2 separate regions of the Homo sapiens genome follow, and region 2 is linked to region 1. The links are contacts of gene promoters, found by promoter capture Hi-C in human tissues and cell types (Jung and others, 2019). All regions are on one chromosome and are shown on one strand. The core of a region is centred on a gene start or on the middle of the fragment in contact, and the rest is flanking DNA. Distances in the headings are between cores, read along the strand shown. Region 1 holds the start of DGCR8 (DGCR8 microprocessor complex subunit). Region 2 overlaps TXNRD2 (thioredoxin reductase 2).

Region 1 (3,107 bases), core at 484-2,983:
GAGAATTAGAGGCTCACCAGGTAGGCTGGGCCAGGATGTTAACTTGAAGGTGGTGAGAAATGGTCTGTGCTTAGAAATAGGTGAGCTGACGGGGCCTCCTTAGGACTGCATGAAGGTGTAAGAAAGAGAGGAATCAAAGGGACTTTAGATAGGCCAAGGAATGTTTTGGCATGGGTGAAGATTTGAGTTTGGTTTGGATATGGCTACTTGGCGCCAAAGTAACACATGGAGATATGGAAGAGGTGGCCAGAAACACCAGGCTGGAAATCAGAAGAGAGGCCAGGGCTGGAGCTGTGAAGATGTCAAGGAAAGCTGGCATTAAAGTCAGGAGGCTGGGTGACATCACAAAGGAGAGGGCTACAACAAGAGAGTCTAAGACTGGGCAAGCCAGCCAGAAGCACATTTCCTACCCCAAGGTCACGGTGAGACTACAAAACAACCCCTGGGAAGTGCTCCACACAGCGCCTGGCCGCAAAGGGCTCAAAGGGGAGCTCTCTGCCCGTAGGCCTCCCCACTGCTCCAGCTGACCAAACACCGCATGCAAACCCTGCCTTGCCAACAGGACTATCGGACAGGAACGGGCTCACGGCAAGCTCCCCTGGACCCTTGGCACGGGGAGAAAACCCGTACACTTGGACAGCACCCTTCCTCCTAGCCCACTTGCTGTGTTGGCTAACAGAGGCACTGGCTGTGACGGGCCAGCACCAGTGCCAGCGCCATGGAGGCTGCCTTTTGGTCAAGTCTCTCCCGCTGCAGCCTCCCGCCCAACCCAGCGGCAGTATGACCTCATCCGTTCCTTTTGTCATCCTCCAACAGGCCTCATATCCCGCACTTAGAGGCAACACTGGGTACCCCGGGCTGGCCATTCACTCCCTTTTGTGAGTGAAGGCCTGCAGCAGGGTTTGGGCCACTCCCACAGCTGGGAGTCTAGTCTGGCCAGGAAACAGTGGATCCTCGCCTGGTGGTTGGCCTCGAACAGTCGACAGCCAAAGACAGGACTGCCGTGCAGGAACAAGGTACATGCAAGCATGCAAAAAGGCAAATCAGACTCCTGCCACAAGAAACCCAAGTCCATCGGTTGACACCAGACAGGCATCACTGTCAACAGGTTGCCACCTTCCATTTATTTCCGCCATGCTCATTGTTACAATAAAACCGTATCCCAATTATCTACGTGACACTCAACCCGTGAGCATTCTGTGGACAAAAAGACTTAGGCGACTTCTTGGATTTCCCAAACTGTGTTAAAGCCGGCAGGGTCCCAGGCGAGCACTGGCCCTGTCCACACCTTTCCCGCCTGAAGGCGATGCTAGGCTTCGGGCCCTCCGGGAGAGGAGCCTCTTTACCCGGGCGGACAGCGACGAGAGTCGGCAACGCCTGGGCCCGGGGCCCGCCCCCCAGCCCCGGAGGCGTCCCCACCCCGCGCTCTCCACCGCCCGCGGCCATGTTGCCTCACAAAGGCCGGGCTCCGCGCCCCCGCCCCGCCCGCGGCCTCGGTCCCGGAGGGAGGCGGGAGGGAAGGGCGCGCCCTCGCGCAGGCCGCGGCGCCCGCCCAACCGCCCGCGGGCGCCCCTCGCGCCCCGCACCTACCTGAGGCGCCCGCGGGCTGCCCAAGCCGCCCGCAGCCAAACCACAGCCGGGAAAGCCTCACCGACCGACCGCCGCAGCCATCTGGAAAGCCTGTCCAGGCTCTCCGGTCGCCGGCACCCGCCTGCCGCGCCGGGCGAGCGGAGGGCGGGCCTTCGCGGCGTGCGGCCAATCCCCGCGCGCGGCCGCCCCGCATTGGGGGAGCCGCAGAGCGCGCTGCGGAGGCCGCCAATCGGCGGCGCGTAGCGCGTGTGTCCGCCGCGCGCGGCCCAATAGCGCGGCCGCGCGGGAGGGACCAGGCGCCCAGGCCGCGGTCGCGCTAACAGTCGCTGCCCAGGCGGGGCTCGCTGGACTGAGGGCGGCGGCCGCGAGGAGCGCCGGGAACGGGAAGCACCGGGAATGCCGGGAGCAGGGGAGCGCGGGAAGCTCGGGGAGCGCGGGGAATGCCGGGAACAGGGAGCGCGGAGTACGCCGGGAGCGGACACGCAGACGGGCCACCTTCGGTGGACACTGCAGAAGAGACCGTGCACACACAGGCGTTACACAACCCTGTTAAAAGCATCACTGTATCAGACATCATCATTTATAAAGAACGCGTGTGCTCAACTGTCTGGCGCTGTCCCCTTTGCTAATACAGGATTTCCAAAACAGGGAGGGTTCGGCCGGGCACGGTGGTTCGGCCGGGCACGGTGGCTTGCGCCTGTAATCCCAGAGTTTTGGGAGGTCGAGTCAGGAGGATTACTTGAGCCCAGGAGTTCGAGACCAGCCTGGCTAACATAGTGAGAGCCCAGTATCTACAAATTTTCTTTCTTTTTTTTTTTTTTTTTGAGGCGGTGTCTCGCTTTGTCTCCCAGGCTGGGGTGCAGTGGCGCGATCTCAGCTCACTGCAACCTTTGCCTCCCGGATTCAAGCGATTCTCCTGGCTCACCCACCCGAGTAACTGGGATTACAGGCGCCCACCACCACGCCCGGCTAATTTTTATATTTTTGGTAGAGACGGGGTTTCACCATGTTGGCCAGGCTGGTATCAAACTCCTGGCCTCAATTGATCTGCCCGCCTCGGCCTCCCAAAGTGCTGGGATTACAGGCATGAGCCACCGCGCCGGGCCCAAAATTATTTTTAATTAGCCGCGTGGTGGCGGGCGCCTGTGGTCCGAGCTACTCGGGAGGCTGAGGTGGAAGGATCACCTGAGTCCAGGAGTTCCAGGCTGCAGTGATCCGAGATAGCACCACTTTCACTCTAGCCTGGGCGGCAGAGTGAGACTCCGTCTCAAAAAAAAAAAAAAAAAAAAGGAAAACGAGGGTCTGAGTAAGTGAGGGTACAGCTCTTCCTTAGACTAGCTTTCCTGTCAATAAATGTGGAAGGAATAGTGGAAATAGAAAAATTTTCCACTGGGTAGCCACCCCAATAATAGCTGCTGTAGACGAAAATCTTGAGTGATAAAAATAGTGGGCCGGGCCCTGTGGCTCACGCCTGTAACCCCAGTACTTTGGGAGGCCGAAGCAGGCGGATCACCTGA
Region 2 (3,048 bases), core at 402-2,901, 140 kb after region 1:
GATCTCATCAGGTATGAGGGCAGTCTCTGACGCGAACGTCTCTTCCTCGTGGTTTTTATTGTCAGTATTCACACGAAGTTTAAGTCTCCTAGTGGGCACCCAGACGGGATTGACGATCTCCTGGTAAAACACAAGCATACCCTCTTCCCCACGTTATAATTGTTCCAGGTTCCCAGGTATTGGTTTGGGAGTTTTTCCATGACACTGGCTTGCCTTCGTTTAGGGAGAATTTTTTGCCTGTATAATGGCATTTAGCTGCAGTCAGAGTATTGTTTTTAGGAACATTTAGAAAGCTTAAACAATGCTAAATATAATTGGGAGTGGGGAGTAGTTAAATTATGCTTTTAAACCAGCCTTGTCTTCTTTTACAGTAACTTGAAGAGGTTTAGTAATTTTTTCACGTTTTGGACCGAGACCGAGTCTGGAAACAAACCCCATGTTTTCCATTATATGTTGACTGGGAGCACTGTAAAAGTTATGTGGAATATTAATTTCAGCCCCAATTTGTGCCAGCAAATCTCTGCCCCGAAGATTAATGGGGATGGGCATGATATAAGGCTGAATTGTTCCCTTTTGACCATCAGGGCCAGTGCAAGCCAAGATAAATGTGCTCTGGTGAACTTCTTCAGCTTTTCTAACACCTTCTAGTTTCATGTTAGTGGGATGTTTAAGCCAGGAGGAAGGCCATAAATTAGAGGAAATAATAGAAACATCAGCCCCAGTATCAACTAGGCCCTCAACCTTTTTTCCTTGAATGTGTATGGTGCAGGTAGGCCATTGTTTAGAAATTACATTAATCCAATAAGCGGCTTTTTCACCGCTGGAGCCCATCCCAGGGCCCCATGTCTTATCTCCTTTGTTTAAAACAATGTTAGGTAGTAAAAGTAATTGAGCAATTGACTCACTGGCCGGAATGGAAACAGGAACTTTGGCAGACACCATAAGTTTACATAAGTTTAATCTCATCAGAGGAATCAGAATTAATGAGACTAGTATGAACTATGATACCTTTAGTATCATGAGGTGGATGCCCTGCCTAACACCAGGCCCACCGAACCTTGAGGTAAAGGGCCAGTGACCCCCATGGGGACAATTAAAGGCAAAGAATTAGGTAGTAAATTTAGAGGAATGGTACTACAGAGATCGACCGCCCTGCTGCCTACTGTGGAGGTAGACAAGCATTGTACTGAGACAGAAGAAGAGGCTGGGACCCATCTGGATTGGCTGTAGGTAAATTTGTTTGTGCTGGGGGCTGCGTTGGGACTGCTTGACGCAAAAACACAACATTGGTCTGAGTCCGAGGTGTCCCATTTGATATTGGGGCCTGGGACTGGCCTTGCTTCCTGTTTCCCTGGTTCTGTGGCAAGGGATTTTCATCTATATCAGACTGAGTGGCAAGTACTTGCCCAATGTTTACCCTTACGACAACGCAGGCAAACAGTAGCAGGAGCATTTGGCCGTGTTTGTTGAGCCGGCTTGGCCGCTTTTAAGTTTTTAACAGTGTAGTTTTTTTGGGTATGACCAAGTTGGCCACAATTATAGCAGGCTCCAAGAAAAGAATCAGTCGAGCCAGTTTGGTTGCCGTGCTTCATGGCCGGTGCCCACAGAATAGCTCTGTGGGTCTCCGATCCAACGCCTTCACAAGCTTTAATATATGCAGGCAACACCTCATGATCAGGTAAATTTTGACGTAGGATGGAATGCACGGCCATTTTACACTCATGGTTCGCATTTTGAAAAGCTAACATATGAAGAAGAATACCTTGAGTGTGCTCATCAGAGACAGATTTTTCAACAGCATCTTGTAATTTAGCTAAAAAATCAAGATATAATTCATTGTGACCCTGTTTAACAATAGTAAAAGAAACAGAAGCTTGGCCTGGGGTGCGTAATTTATCCCAAGCTCTCATACACACCTTTGTTACTTGTTCCGTGGTGAGAGCATCAAAGCCTAAATGAGCAGTAGTATCAGAGTAATTATCGGAGCCTGTGAGCTGAGCCTGAGTAATTGGAATGCCATCAGCCCGATTTAGCTGAGCCTGCAGGCGGGCCTCCTCTGACCACCAGGTATGGAATTGTAAATGCTGAGATGGAGTTAGAACAGCTTTTGCCAAAAGGTCGCAGTCTATAGGAAGCAAAATGACCTCGGTACAAAGAGTCTGTAATACCGTTTTAACATATGGAGAAGTAGGAACATACTGAGTACAAGCATCCTTGAATTCTTTTAAAAAGGTAAGATTGAGCGGCGTATATCGACACACTTGTACCCCTTGAGCATTAGGAGGTTCCAGCATGACCGAATAAGCCCACGCCTCTAATCTACTTGTTTGTTTTGGCGTAATAAGCATTGCATGAAAGTTTCAAGAGCAGGCACATGAGATAGAGTCGGCATAGAAGTGACAGGAAAAGTATGTATAGATAAGAGAAACTGAGATTGACGGGGTCGGACTGGTATAAGAGTGTGAGAAAGGGGCATTGGGGGAGCAGAAGAGGCAGAAGCATACTGGTGATTACTGGCCCAGTCCTGCACAACCAGAGTGGCAGGGGTGTCCCTGCATGAAGAAGGGTACAGAGAAGCAGGTTGAGTGGATGGCAAAGTGACCGGTTGAGGGACCAAAATGATAGGAGGGTGAGGGGCTGTGGTGGATGGGGGAGGGCCTGCAGAATTACAGGTAAATTGTAGTTTGGATGGCTCCGGAGGCAAAGACTGTAAAGGTTTGGAGAGGGAAGAGTTAGCATAGATATGGTCCTGGGCTGTCTGAGTTGGGGCCGCAGGAGCTACAAGTGTCGGCTCTTCGTGAAAAGAAATAAGATCATCAGGGGGTGATGTTAAGCCAAAGTCACTGGAGTTAGATATTGAATCCTCAGTATCGTCAGGTGGGGGAGGAGTAGGCAAAGGGAGGGGCTGAGCAGATAATGAAGGCCGAGTGGGAGAGGAAAGCTGAGGAAGAGGTAGAGGGTGGCCAGATTCAGAAAACTGTGGTAACTGCAGGGTGTCACGGGATTGGTATGTCATTAGGATGGCACGTACCAAGGCCCAATCACCCC

The links. Contacts are between HindIII fragments. The study calls those that stand out against the background at their distance.
Region 2: a contact is called between a fragment that was not itself captured here and the fragment with the promoter of DGCR8 in region 1, in 1 of the 25 tissues and cell types used here (dorsolateral prefrontal cortex).

Annotation. Positions count from the first base shown.
Region 1 is chr22:20,078,867-20,081,973 of GRCh38, reverse strand. DGCR8 (DGCR8 microprocessor complex subunit) reads right to left here and starts at 1,733. Exons shown (of 14, transcript NM_022720.7): 1 at 1,591-1,733. RefSeq lists an enhancer at 915-974 and a silencer at 1,235-1,854. The HindIII fragment of the contact is 8,782 bases long and covers 1-3,107 here.
Region 2 is chr22:19,936,161-19,939,208 of GRCh38, reverse strand. All of the region lies in intron 1 of TXNRD2 (thioredoxin reductase 2), which reads left to right. LOC124905081 (endogenous retrovirus group K member 24 Gag polyprotein-like) reads right to left here. Exons shown (of 2, transcript XM_047441689.1): 2 at 1,220-3,048. The coding sequence starts at 2,348. The coding sequence ends at 1,383. Among named protein-coding and RNA genes, the nearest start is that of COMT, 4.1 kb to the left of the region's middle. The HindIII fragment of the contact is 4,369 bases long and covers 1-3,048 here.